Linked DNA regions of Homo sapiens: all the other regions are linked to region 2. Evidence: promoter capture Hi-C in 16 types of primary human blood cells and fetal thymus (Javierre and others, 2016). All regions are on one chromosome and are shown on one strand. Each heading gives the region's core, a stretch centred on a gene start or on the middle of the fragment in contact. The rest is flanking DNA. Distances are from core to core; before and after follow the strand shown.

Region 1 (4,525 bases), core at 1,248-3,747, 1.2 Mb before region 2:
ATCAAAGTGGGCCGAGCACGTTGGCTCACGCCTGTAATCCCAGTCCTTTGGGAGGCTGAGGTGGGCGGATCACGAGGTCAGGAGATCAAGACCATCCTGGCTAACACGGTGAAACCCCATCTCTATTAAAAATACAAAAAATTAGCCGGGCGTGGTGGCGGGCGCCTGTAGTCCCAGCTACTCGGCAGGCTGAGGCAGGAGAATGGCGTGAACCTGGAGGTGGTGCTTGCAGTGAGCGGAGATTGTGCCACTGCACTCCAGCCTGGGTGACAGAGCAAGACTCCGTCTCAAAAAAAAAAAAAAAAAAAAAAAGATTCAAAGTTCGTGTTTCCCTATATATTTATCTGTTTTTTCCAGCACTATTCATTGGGTATACTCATATACATTAAAAAATAAAATTTAACTTTAACTTGACTATATTTTGAATGCATTCTCTCATTATTTAATGCTTTACATAAAAATTAAATCATTAAATTTGCTAAATATGTTAACTTTTTCAATATAACTCATTTCCTATACCTTATTTTATACCCTTCAAATTATTATTTTGAGAATGGGTCCATAAGCTCTACAAGATTACCAAAAGTGTTCATGTCATAATGCATGCTAAGAAGCCTCAGTGAGGTGGAAAGAAGGACACTAAACTTTAGAACATAGAGAACTAGGTAAATACCTGTTTGCTGCTTCCTAGCTCTGTAATCTTGAACATATCACTCAACCTTCATTCATATTCCACACTTCCACAGATTCAGTAAATATCTATTGAGCACTGACCACCAGCCTCTGTTAAATCTTGTGAATTTAATACAGACAGACAATCTTTCCTGTACAGAGTTTACAGCTGAGTCGGGGAGGCAGATGAGTCCACAGGCCATTATACAACACCGTGGTAAGTGCTTTGATAGTGGAAGGACAGAGTGCTTTAGGAGCTCAGAGGTGGGTCTCCCAACCTAGATTTGTGACATCAGGAAATATTTCGAGATAGGGACACTAAAGTGACTCCTGAGGGATAAATGGACATTAGCCCAGCAAAGAGGAGAAGCATGATCCAGGCAGGGGGCTGAACTCTTAAGAGACATGGCATGTTTTGTTTTGTTGTGTTCTGTTTTTGAGATGGAGTCTGGCTCTGTCGCCCAGGCTGGAGTGCAGTGGTGCAATCTCTGCTCACTGCAACCTCTGCTTCCCAGGTTCAAGCGATTTTCCTGACTTACCCTACTGAGTAGCTGGGACTATAGGTGCGCACCACCACACCCAGCTACTTTTTTTGTATCTTCAGTAGAGACGGGATTTCACCATGTTGGCCAGGCTGGTCTCGAACTCCTGACCTCAGGTGATCCATCCGCCTCAGCCTCCCCACGTGCTGGGATTACAGGTGTGAGCCACCGCGCCCGGCGGAGACACGGCATATTTGATAAACTGAGAAGAGTCAGCATGGGGAGAACTAAGGGATAGCAGTACAAGGCATACCTGAAGAAGGGGTCATGCTGGAGGGTCTCAGAGGCCATTTTAAGGACATTAGCTTTATTCTAAGAGCAATGGGACATCATTGATGGATTTTAATCATTGTTGGGTTGTGACAGGATCAGGTTTAATTAATCAATTTTAAATTCCCTTCTTTTCACAGGTGTTGAAAATTATAAAAATCACTTTGGTTTTGTGAAGAACGCATTAGAGGGATCACAACTGGAGACAGTCACGGGAGTTTGGAGTTACTGGAGAAATTCTGCCGAGAGGGGGTAAGTGCATGAATTGTGGCAATGGGGATGGGGGTGAATGGATGGATTTGAAAGACAATTAGGAGGTAAGCGCAATTAAGTGTATGAGAAACTTTGGGGTATGAAGAAGAGGGAGATTCCTCAGATTTCTAGCTGGACCAACAGGATGGATGGCAGCGCCCTTCACCAGGAAAAAAGTGAGCTGATGGAAGAACATAAGGTGAAATTTGAATTCATGGGGTTTGAGGTGACTGAGTGAGGATGTCCAACAGACGTTTGGCCATATTGGCCTGAAAATCAGAAGAGAGGTTTGAGATGGAGAGCCAACTGTGCCCATATGGTAAGATGCTACAGGCGGCATTCCTTCTGTCCTCCCGTCCTTCGTTCAAAATCTGTTGAGATGTCCCATAGGCTGGATGTTGGGGATACAGCAGGGAACAAGAACACTGCGTTCGCTCAACCAGTTTACCATCTACCTCTCTGAACTTGTTCTTAGTCTGTAAAATGAAGATAATGATAAGATTAAGTAAGATGAGGTCGTGTGAGGGCACCTAGCACTTACAATTTTTGTATTGGTTTCTCTTCCTCAGAGCCAAAGGAGGAGATAGTTACTTTTGCTTTTGCAGCCTTTTCCGGGCGGCTTTTCCGCGCAGGCGCCCCTGGACCTCCCAGGTTGAGAGGTGGAGCGGGCCAAACCTCAGCTGCCTTTCCCGGGGCCGGGACCCGGCCGGGGGAGGACCGAGGCGCGGCGCTGTCCGTGACGTCATCAGGCTGCGCTGCCCGCAGTACTGGACCCGAGCGCGACGGTGCGGCTGGCGGACCCGGGCTGGCTTGTGGGGAAACGAAACTGAGGGAGGAGGCGGCGGCTCTGGCAGCGGCGGCGACAGTGTCGGCCTGACCCCCCCTCCGCTCCCCGGCAGCTCGCTCTCTCCCCTCAGCGTGAGTGCCGACGCGCGGCCCGGGGGGAGCAAGCGGGCGGGCGCGCGGGCTCAGCATCCTTCTCCCCTCCACCGCCGCCTGGGCCCCCCGCCCGCGGTTATGGGTCTCCTCGCCTTCTGGCCCCTTATGTCTTCCCTCCTCCTCCCACCCCCAACGCCGGCTCCCTGGAGCCCGAGCTGCCGCTGACACACGTCTCTGCGCACACATTCACACGCTCATGTTATCTTCAAATGAAGGGACTGGCCGGGAGACATGGGAGCTTATCTCTTCTCTCTGTGATTAGGGGTGGCAGTGCCAAACCGAGGCCCAGGGAGAGAAGACTGCAGAGGGGATTTGAACCCCTTCTGTGCGGAAGCAGCAGGTAGAACCAGGCCGCTTGCCTTCCGCTTAGAAGTTCCCTGCCAGAGCATTCTGCTGGCATGTGTGGGTCACTTGAGCAGGGCACTGGTTAGCTGTGTGGCCTTCACCTCTGTGGCCGCAGTCTTTTCCCGTGGAAGATGATAGGGTTGGATGAGATGATTTGGAAGGCCCAAATCTAAGGTGATGTGGTTTGGGGAGGAGCATCCGCCTCTCCTGCCTTTCACACAGCTGTTCAACAGTCCGCTTTGAGTTTGCTGTACTTCCAGTCTCCCCCCGAGTCACTTAAGAATTAAAAGCTTTTAGCGCTTGCAATGGCTAGAAGCAAGCTCTGTGATGAGCCTTCCTTTATCTCACCCTGGGGGCCTTTTGGGGGTATTTAAGACTACGGCTTAAAGTGAAATGTGGCTTAGCTTGGTCTTGCTTTCTGTTTGCTCAGTGTCTCCGGTTCTTCCCTGGGACAGCCCCTGCCTGTATCTAGTAAGAGGCTGCTTTCTCAGGAAGGTGGCGGTTGTGCATTGGGTTGATTGGCTCTTCCTTGAGTTGGAGAGAACTGAAACATGTGATCCAGGGTTTTACGAGGTTGGGAGCATCAGTGACACTTTTGGGTTTCAATACTTTCTTGCTGTACCTCGCCTTCCCTAAGGATTGTTTCCCAGCTTGTCGCCCACCCTGTATTGAGTCCTCTTTTCTGAGTTCTCTACAGCCAATCAGTTGTGTGTAAGCCACACTGTATTCACTACTTCTCTTGCTTGCTCTTTAACTTGATAATTCGTTAAGATTTCAGGGTTTCATAATCACTTCATTCCATCTTATTTTTTTCTCGTGCTTATCTCTCATGTACCTAACCATGGGGATGGATGATTGATGGTGGCATGGTGCCTGTTTCTTTCTTTTTTGTTTTTTTGAGACGGAGTCTTGCTCTGTCGCCCAGGGTGGAGTGCAGTGGTGTGATCTCGGCTCACTGCAACCTCCGCCTCAGCAATTCAAGCGGTTCTCCTGAGTAGCTGGGACTACAGGCATGTGCCACCACCCGGCTAATTTTTGTGTTTTTTTTACTAGAGATGGGGTTTCACCATGTTGGCCAGGCTGGTCTTGAACTCCTGACCTCAGGTGATCCGCCCACCTCTTTCTCCCAAAGTGCTGGGATTACAGGCGTGAGCCACCGCGCCCAGCTGGTTTCCACTCTTTTTTGTGGAGGTGGATTTCTGTCCTTAAAATTGTTGTTTTCGTAACTGAGTTCTGTGGTATAGCTACCTCCAGTCCCAATAACTTTCCCGCTCTTGTGTTTCCTCGGTCTTAAGTCATTTCACTGCTTCCATTCCCTACTCTGCTTAAAAACTTTCCCAATTCTTTCATGTTTTCAAACATTATGAAGTAAACCAAAACCAGTATTTTTATGATATTATGTAATTTCTTAATTGTTTTGGTAAAATAATGCTGATGAAACAGTCATTCTGGGATGGTCCCTTCACCTTGGGAATATTGGTTAATATTTATTCGGTTTTATAGTT
Region 2 (4,280 bases), core at 25-2,524:
CAGATTCTCAGTTATGAAACAGAATCATAGAATTTTAGACCTAAATGAGAACCTTGAACTTATTTTCCTCTATCCTCTTACACAAAACATTAGATTTCAGTACAGCCTATCTTTTCACTGGTTCTACAAATTGCCTTAATCAACAGAAAGAAAAGACTGGCTTCTTCCCTGTCTCCAATATTCCTCGCTCCCAAGTATGGTAACCACAACCCCTATACATCTACCCATGATAGAGTCCAGAGCACTGAGAAGACAGCACAGGGCTGAGGATGAGCTACACCTTTACATGCTGGGTTCTCCCATCATCAACACTTTCCGCCCACACAGTGAACAGAATCCGTATTTTCTGCCCAGAAAATAGCAGCCTGTACTGCCTTTAGGAAAAACAAACAAAACATGCTTCCATACTTCCTTGGATCTACTAATGACAAAAGCACAACACGGTTCTGGGAAATATAGCAAGATAACTAAGTCTATGAGGAAGTAAGAAATGAGGATGCCTATCAGCACCTTGGTCTCAAAATCTGTAACAACAATGTACTAAAACGCCAAGGAAACACATGCACATACATGTGAAGTTAGAAACTCTAGGCAACAGGTTGGCTGCCCCGGATCTATACTGACAGGTCGCCCTCCCAAGGTCGTGGGTGTGTCTGATGCCGCACGCAGGCACTGATTCACAACTCTCTCCATAACAACCAGCTCCTACTCAGAGGCTGGCCAGGGCAGGGGAGATGAGGGCCCCAGCAGTCCCAAACTTTCCAAACCCCCACCCCGGGGTCCCGGGTTTCGCCTCCTCAGTCCCAGGCAACGTCGTCTCAGACAGGATACGAGACTGCTAGGGAACCTGGGCTGCCCCTGATTCGAACTCCTCTCTTTGGGAGGCTGGTAGAGCCACCCCGAATCCCCGAAACGTCTACTTCCCACTACACCTTCGTGGACTGCGAACGGGACGGCTACCGCTCTCCCAGAGCACCCGGGCCCAAGAAATGACCCTCGTCAGGCCCCGTCCCAGCTCCTCCCCCGCCCCCGGAAAAAGCGGCGGAGGGGCGGGGGGCGGTGCGCGCGGATACGGCGGGGGCGCGCGTCCCCGCGCCGCAGGTGCGGCCAGGCCCCACCTCCCCTGCAAGGACCCGGCTACTCACCCCAGCGATGCTCCTCTGAGACCAAGCTGCGACACAGACGCCTCTTCCGCCCGCTCCGCACCCCTCTCTGCGCCACCGCCCCCTTGGCCGCTTCCGTGGCCGCCGTCCTCGCCGCCGCCCCGGCTGCTGCGGCGCGCGTCCGCTTTCACGCACTCCGCCGTGGCCGCGCACGCGCCACTGCGCGCTGGCGTCACTTAGCAACCGATCGACAGCGGGCTGCTGGGTCCGGCGATGCAGGCCCAGAAAGTCGCCTAAGGCAGCTTCCGCGGCTTTTTCGCATCGGCCCGACCCTCTGCCCCTCCAGAACAGGGGGCCCCAGGGTGTGGCTGCCCTGCCGGCACCTGGCTCCGGGTAAGTCGAGTCACCACACGTCACTGTATGGCGTCACCGGCGCACGTCACTACGGATGAGAAGGTCCTGGGCGCCTGTGGAGTGACCTCGTCCAGACCGCCGCAGACCCGATCGGCAAGTTCTTGGAGGTGCAGGAAGGTTCTCCAAGGAGTAGGACCAGAAAGGGATGAGAGCGCGAGCGCGGTTAATGTCGAGGCTGCTAAGTGATGCTCGTTAATTTCGCAGCAGGGTGTGACTGGCCCAGCCTTGACTCTCAGTTTCCTCTCTCAGTAAATGGGCATAATAATACCGGTCCAGCCTACGCTGGAGAATTGTGAGGTGAAAATGAAATAAGGTATGCAAAGGTACTTTGTAAGTATAAAGCCCATTTGACTTGGTGGCTCAAGCCTGTAATCCCAGCACTTTGGGAGGCCGAGGTGGGCGGATCGCTTGAGCTCAGGAGTTCGACACCAGCCTGGGTAACATAGTGAAACCCCGTCTCTACAAAAAAGACAAAAACTAAATGGGCATGTTGGCGCGCGCCTGTAGTCACAAATGCTCGGGGGGCTGAGGTGGGAGGATCGCTTGAACCTGGGGAGTTCAAGATTGCAGTGAACCGTGATCGCGCCGCTGCACTCCAGCCTCTGCAGTGAGAGCAAGACACTGTCTCAAAAAAATGTATTTATCTATCTACATAGATAAGAGTCCTAGAAATCCGGGTGCAGGTCTGACTGTAGCTGGTGTAGGAAAGTCAGTTATCCCCGACGCTGGAGCAAGCTAGGGGACCGCCCTTGCAGTTGTTGGAGGAGACAAATTGGGAAGGACTTAATTCCGGGCAAAGGAAGCTTCATGAGTAAAAGTAGAAAGTGAAAATGGTCAGGAAAAGCAAGGCTTGGGGCAGGGAGACCCATTTTTAGGCCATTGCAGTACTCCAGACAAGTGATAAGAACATTAAACAAGGCATTGGCAGTGGGAATAGAGGAGGGGATAGATGTTAGCGCCATTAAGGTGGTAGAATTCACAGCACTGAGTGCGGATAAATGAGTAGGCCAGGTTTCTAGCATGAGTGCTGAGGTAGACAGTGGTAACATTTAGCAAGATGGCAAGCTACATGAGTCTTGATTATCCACAAGTGTCTAAGTTACTATTATAGATAGTGATGGTGACATTTCTTAGGAGGATGACCAGATATGTGGAGTATGATGATGAGTTCAAATATGGATATGTTTGTTAGGGAAACATTTACTCTCCATTCACAATGTCTTTCTTCCATATGGAATGATATCCATTAGTGTAATACTCTCCTGGTTTCTCTTATACCTGTCTGCAACTCACTCTTGCCTAGAGGAGTGACTTCCTGATTGGTGAACTTAAATGGGAGAAACTGGACATGTGGCATCTATCCCATTCTTTTTCTCTTAAAAGATAACTATCTTCAGGGAACTGTCCTGGTGTTCTTTTCCGTTTCTTCTGGAGCAGGGCCTGTGGGTAGGGACAAGGGTGCCTAGTCCAGGGCTACAAAGAGAGTATATGTATTTAATTCCAGAGTTTGGCATTAGGAAGCTGTCTGTCCACAGATAATATTTAATACCAGCTTTGTCAGCTGTGTTACACAGAATAATGATCCCCCCCAACCAAAAAAAAAAGGATGACCACACCCTAATACTCAGAACCCATGAATATGTTATATTATGTGGCAAAAGGGACTTTGCAGATATGATTAAATGATGTATCTAGGGAGATTATCCTGGATTGTCTGACTGGGCTGGAGGCAGGAGGGTCAGAGTCAGAGAAGGAGATGTGATGATGGAAGCAGAGGTCAGACAGAGATTTGAAGATGCTATACTGTTGGCTTTGAAGATGGACCCAAGAAACGCAAGCAAATTGTAGATGCGGGAGAAGGCAAGGAAATGGATTCTTCTCTAGCACCCTAAGAACACAGCCCTGCCAACACCTTGATTTTAGGACTTCTGACTTCTAGAACTGCGAGATAAGAAACTTGTATGTTTTAAGGTACCAAGTTTGTGCTAACTTGTTACAACAGCAATAGGAAACTGATACAGTCAGTAATAAAGATAATAGTTGGTTTCCTGCAGCTTTCTCCATTACCTGGAAAAGAAGGGTACAATTCAGTAGGTCCCCTCAGAGACTATAGCAATATGACTGTGACCTGATGGAACCTCCACATCTAGAGAAAAATGTCCAATAAACACTCAAACTGTACAGGTCTATGAATGAGGAAAGAGGTTGAGTTAAAATAGATTTGGAAGAAATAAATTAATAATTGGTAATTTAAGCCCGAGGCATGGATGAGATCAATCAGGGAGAAAATACAGAAGACATAATAAGGAGAGGCAAGGATAGGGCCCCTGGAGAGCACTAACTTTAAAAGGAGGTGCAGATGATCAGAAGCCCAAAAAGAAGTCTGAGGAAGAATGGCCAGAGAGAGAAAAGGAGAACTAGGTGAGCCTAATGCCTCTGAAGCCAAGCAAGCAAGATGGAGAGGGGTCAACAGAGTCAGAGACCACAAAAAGGCCAAGTATATCAAGAACTGGAAAGCATTCACTGGATTTAGCAACAGAAAAGTGATTGGTAACCAACAATAGCAAACTTCAGTGGGATAGTGGAGATAGATACCAAATCACTGAGATCTGAAAGGCAGATCAATATAGTGGATTGGCCTCTAGACTAGTTTGATGGGAGTTTTGAGATTCTAGTCTTGATTCTGGCCATTAACTAGCTAGATAACTTTGAACAAATCCCTCAACTACTCCAGGCTTTGGTTTTCGCATCTGGCAAAGGATG
Region 3 (4,283 bases), core at 593-3,092, 1.3 Mb before region 2:
GATCGCGAGCGTGTGGCGATTGCTTCTGTCTGTTATTTAGATATGGAAGCTGAGGGGATGCACAGAGGCAGCCAGAACCTAGGTCAGGGTCTCGCTCGGTGCTGACCGCCCCCGGGGTCGAGTAGGCGATGGGGGAGCCCGGCTTCTTCGTCACAGGAGACCGCGCCGGTGGCCGGAGCTGGTGCCTGCGGCGGGTGGGGATGAGCGCCGGGTGGCTGCTGCTGGAAGATGGGTGCGAGGTACGGGGGAAGGGGTCCTGTGGAGCGGAGGGCAGGGGCTGGAGGGAGCGGGGCTCCGGGGAGGGAGGAAGGTGTCTTGCTGGGCTGAATGAATGGCAGAGAGGAGGCGGGCATCAGGAAGAGGAGCGAAGTGTCTGTGGGGGGGGTGGATTCCTGGGGAGAGAAGGGAGAAAGCGGTTCTGGCGCGAGCGGCTGAAGGGTCTGCGGTGGGAGGTGTTTGGGGGAGAAATAGGGGCCGAGTGGGAGAAAGGAAGAAAAGAGAGTTCGGCTCTGGGGAGCCCGGGGGGGCCACAAGGGTTGGGGCGAGGACGGAGGCCCTGACCCGCGGCCTGTGGGGCGAGAAGCGGGCCCCGTCCAGAGAGGCCTGGGTCAGCGGGTAGCTGGGCCGGGGACTGGGAGGAGAGGGACGCGCAGGGAACGTGAGGAGATGCGGGGGTGTCGAGGAGGGGAGGGCGGGGGCTGGCCAGATCCCGTTTAGGGCGCACAGAGCCCCGCGGTGCCAGGTCGGGGAACGGTGGCGGGGGCCGCGAGCTGCCGGGAAGCCGAGGCAGGGCCCGGCGCCTGAACTTTCTCGAGTTTGTTTTGAAAACGATTGCAAATTTTGGGTTTTGTCCCTTAAAGCAATCAAACTTTCACGTAGAAATGTCTTCCTCCTTCCCAACTCTGAGGAACATGGGCGGCTTGGGCTGGGCCACATTTCTCCTGTGAGGCTCGGTACGGCCGAGTGGCACTCCCTGAGGTGGGTCGGGCAGGTATTCAGAGTTCTCTCCAGAGGCTGCCTGTCGTCTTTATTAATGCAGTTGCAAATGAAAAATATTTTAAGGGGAAAGATGAGGTACCGTTCCTGGCACGGTTCAAGATGCACCAGCGTGGTGCATCTTGAAAAGACGAGGGAAGGGAGGAGGGAGTTAGATTGCAATCAGGTTGAGAAGGAGAACTGGGTCAGGGACAAGCTTGTGATGACTGGGAACCATTTGGGTTTTGGAAATAATCTGTATGAAAAGTTCTCTTTGCAGTAAAAGTGGATGGTTGGTCATGATGTAAATTCAAGAAGTATTTTGAGTCTCATGTGTGTTCAGGTAGATTTTTCCTATAAGCCGTACTGCCTCAATTCAGTCTGCCAGGTATTTACTGAGTATTTAACATTGTTTGGTGTACAATGAGGACAAATAAAATTTCTGCGCTCGAAGAGTTTAAGGCTTGAGTGGGGAGAGAGGATTTATACAATGAAGCAGTCATCGTATAAAGAACATCCATATGGGCTGTATGATCAAGTGCTAAGATTTGGATTATTTAGTTCCTTCCCAGAGCAGTAGTTCTTCAAGTCAGAGGAGGAATTCATGTCTAGGCACAAATTTAATTGCTAGATTAGGGAGTGTTATAAAGGGTTACTTGTATGCTGTGGTTTGAGGAACACCAAGAAAACATCTCTGCCTCCAAATACCTCTTCTATCCAGGTATTAGTGCCTAAAAGTCCACATTAAGCATTCATTCTTTTAGCTTGAGCACTGATCTTTCCCTGCCTGGCCCTTTCCAACAGCATATGTTTGTGGGAAGTTTAACAAATTAAAACACGAACACCTGAATAATAACCTGAATAATACACACAAAAATAAATTATTTTTGTGCATAACTATTAGTTAATTTCACATACATTACTTAATCTGATCCCTGCATACACACAACCTCATAAGATAACTCAGTGGGCAAGTGTTATTCCTTTAGATTCAATTGTTGTGGATTAATTTATGACTTCTGAATAGCTTGTCAGTACTGCAGTCTTGGGCAGGTGGGATGGGGAGGACGAATTAAAGCACCTGAAGAAAGGGCAAGAAGACTATAAAGCAGTCTTAGACATATTCTAAACCATTTGATAGTTCTTTATGGGGCCAGTTGCATGGGGAGGGACCCATATAAACTCAGTGGTAAGACTGTGGCTGGCTTCAGGGACCTGTGTGTAGGAGAAGCCTGCCAGGCTTGGCTGCCTGCAAGGTCAGGTCGTAGCATAGCCTGAAAAGAAGTCTGAATCAAAGGCAAGAGAAGAAGTTGTACTTATTGTTATGGTCCCCAAATCATAGCACAAGCTGTTTTGCACAAGATTTTAAAAGATACGCTAATAACATAACAGCAAAGGTAGGTCAGTTCCCTGCCTTTCCAGTTCTTAGTCTCAGATGTTGTGGATAAAATAATAAAACAGGGTTCCTTTCATTTCATTGATGGGAACACTGTAGTAAATTGTCTAATTAAGTGGCTTTAAGCTTGTTAAAGCAATGCATAGAGTTTGGTGGAAAAACAAGTAGAGATTTATTGCAAATTAGCTAGTTCTCAGGTACTATAAAGTATCTAGGCCTTTGGGGAAAACAACAGAACCTTCTCTCCCCTTTTCTTCTCTTGTATTTAGTTTTCATTAAGTTTTCTGCCCCAAGGGAAAAAAGGGAAAGGATGGTTATATTTACTGGTTTGGGGGCTTTTTTGTGGGGTGTTTTGTTTTGAGACAGAGTACTCCTTCTGTCACCCAGGCTGGAGTGCAGTGGTGTGATCACACCTTCACCTCCCTGGTTCAAGTGGTTCTTCTGTCTCAGCCTCCGAAGTAGCTGGGATTACAGATATGCACCACTATGCCCAGTTACTTTTTGTGTTTTCAATAGAGGTGGGGTTTCGCCATGTTGGCCAGGCTGGTCTCGAACTCCTGGCCTCATGTGATCCGCCCGCCTGGGCTTCCCAAAGTGCTGGAATTACAGGTGTGAGCCACCACACCTGGCCAGATTTACTTGTTATTTGAGAAACAGTAGGAATTGTGCCCAGGAGGAAAGAGATAGTCTTAGTGAAGGTGGGCAAAGACAGGATGATCTTTTAGATCAATAATGTGTGTAAGCTCAAAGGCTTGCAAAACTATTGTAAATGAAAACAACCCCTCACATATGGGTCGTCAGTCAGTTCCCACGGGAAATTCAGTGTTATGTTGAGTGGTCCTGAGATTTCCAGGTAACCTCACTGCACTCTTTAACTACAGTATAGGTGAAATATCAGTAGTACCAAGGTAAATTCTAAGACCAGGCAGTGCAGGGAAGGATGTAAAAGAATGATTCCTTTTTCTGGGTTCAGAGTCTGTTGGAGGCAATGTCAGGAAAAGGCACTCTTCTACTGTTTTGGTACTGTTTTCCCCTGGCTACTCACAATGGCAGTCTGGCTGTCTCCCCTCAAGTATTAGCATGTAATATGAGATGCTTCCTCTCTTAGAGATAAAGCTACCTAAATAGAAATTTTACTGAATATGGACGACAGATAAATCCCTAGCCATTCCATTTTTAACAGATATGTGTATTCAGAGGAACTTCTATAATTAATATAATTCTGGCAGAGTGTGAAAGAACTGAAAAACTTTGTGCTCAGTGTTGGTGGAGTGATCACCACAACATTTTAAAGAGAAACAAGTGAGACTGTATGAGTTCCAACTGCTGCTCCATATTTTCCAATGGTAATACAGTCTCTAACTTCTGACCTAAAAACACCCACCCTAAAATCTTGAGGACTCATATGCAAGACCTCTTTATTCTTTCATTCATTCTCAAATACTTAACTGAACACTATGCCAGGTATAGAAACACAGTGGTAAACAAGACAGATAAAGTCCCTGCTTATCTAATTTATATTCTATTACGGGGACAGAGGGGAAAAGTAAAATAAACAAGATAATTTTGGTCTGTGATAAGTACTTCCTAATAACTGAAGAAATATGATGGGAAGCAGACAACCAACTTTAGACAGAGGTAATCAGAGTAGGCTTATGAGTAGCTGGAACATGAAAGATAAGGAGCCTGTGCAAGATCTGAGAGAAGAGTGTTCTTAGCAGAGGGGCTAAGTGAAAAGACCCTCAGGTAGGCTGGCACTTCGGGGAGATGGGCTTAAGGAACAACAACAACAAAAAAGTTTGAGGGGCTGGAGCAGCTAGTGTTGGCACTATGGTATGAGTTAAGACTAAAGAGTAGAAGGGCTCAGGACATTCAGGGTCTTATAGGCCATGGAAGGAAGTTTGAATGATTG

Evidence for each region. Contacts are between HindIII fragments. The CHiCAGO score rates a contact against its expected background, and 5 or more counts as called.
Region 1: the fragment with the promoter of CMTR1 here is called in contact with the fragment with the promoter of BTBD9 in region 2 in 1 of 17 cell types (naive B cells); the score reaches 5.2 in naive B cells.
Region 3: a fragment that was not itself captured here is called in contact with the fragment with the promoter of BTBD9 in region 2 in 1 of 17 cell types (fetal thymus); the score reaches 5.5 in fetal thymus.

Annotation. Positions count from the first base shown.
Region 1 is chr6:37,430,724-37,435,248 of GRCh38, forward strand. CMTR1 (cap methyltransferase 1) reads left to right here and starts at 2,498. Exons shown (of 24, transcript NM_015050.3): 1 at 2,498-2,654. LOC107986531 (a long non-coding RNA gene) reads right to left here and starts at 2,500. Exons shown (of 2, transcript NR_171666.1): 1 at 2,328-2,500; 2 at 1,505-2,212. RefSeq lists enhancers at 2,180-2,681, 2,374-2,653 and a silencer at 2,654-2,843. The HindIII fragment of the contact is 3,378 bases long and covers 1-3,308 here.
Region 2 is chr6:38,638,655-38,642,934 of GRCh38, forward strand. It overlaps BTBD9 (BTB domain containing 9), which reads right to left and starts at 1,275. Exons shown (of 11, transcript NM_001099272.2): 1 at 1,146-1,275. It overlaps LOC105375044 (a long non-coding RNA gene), which reads left to right and starts at 1,741. Exons shown (of 3, transcript XR_926767.4): 1 at 1,741-1,830. RefSeq lists a silencer at 938-1,137 and enhancers at 1,237-1,737, 1,538-1,617. The HindIII fragment of the contact is 9,229 bases long and covers 1-2,318 here.
Region 3 is chr6:37,354,037-37,358,319 of GRCh38, forward strand. RNF8 (ring finger protein 8) reads left to right here. Exons shown (of 8, transcript NM_003958.4): 1 at 1-239. The coding sequence starts at 129. Among named protein-coding and RNA genes, the nearest start is that of RNF8, 2.2 kb to the left of the region's middle. RefSeq lists an enhancer at 200-249. The HindIII fragment of the contact is 1,305 bases long and covers 1,191-2,495 here.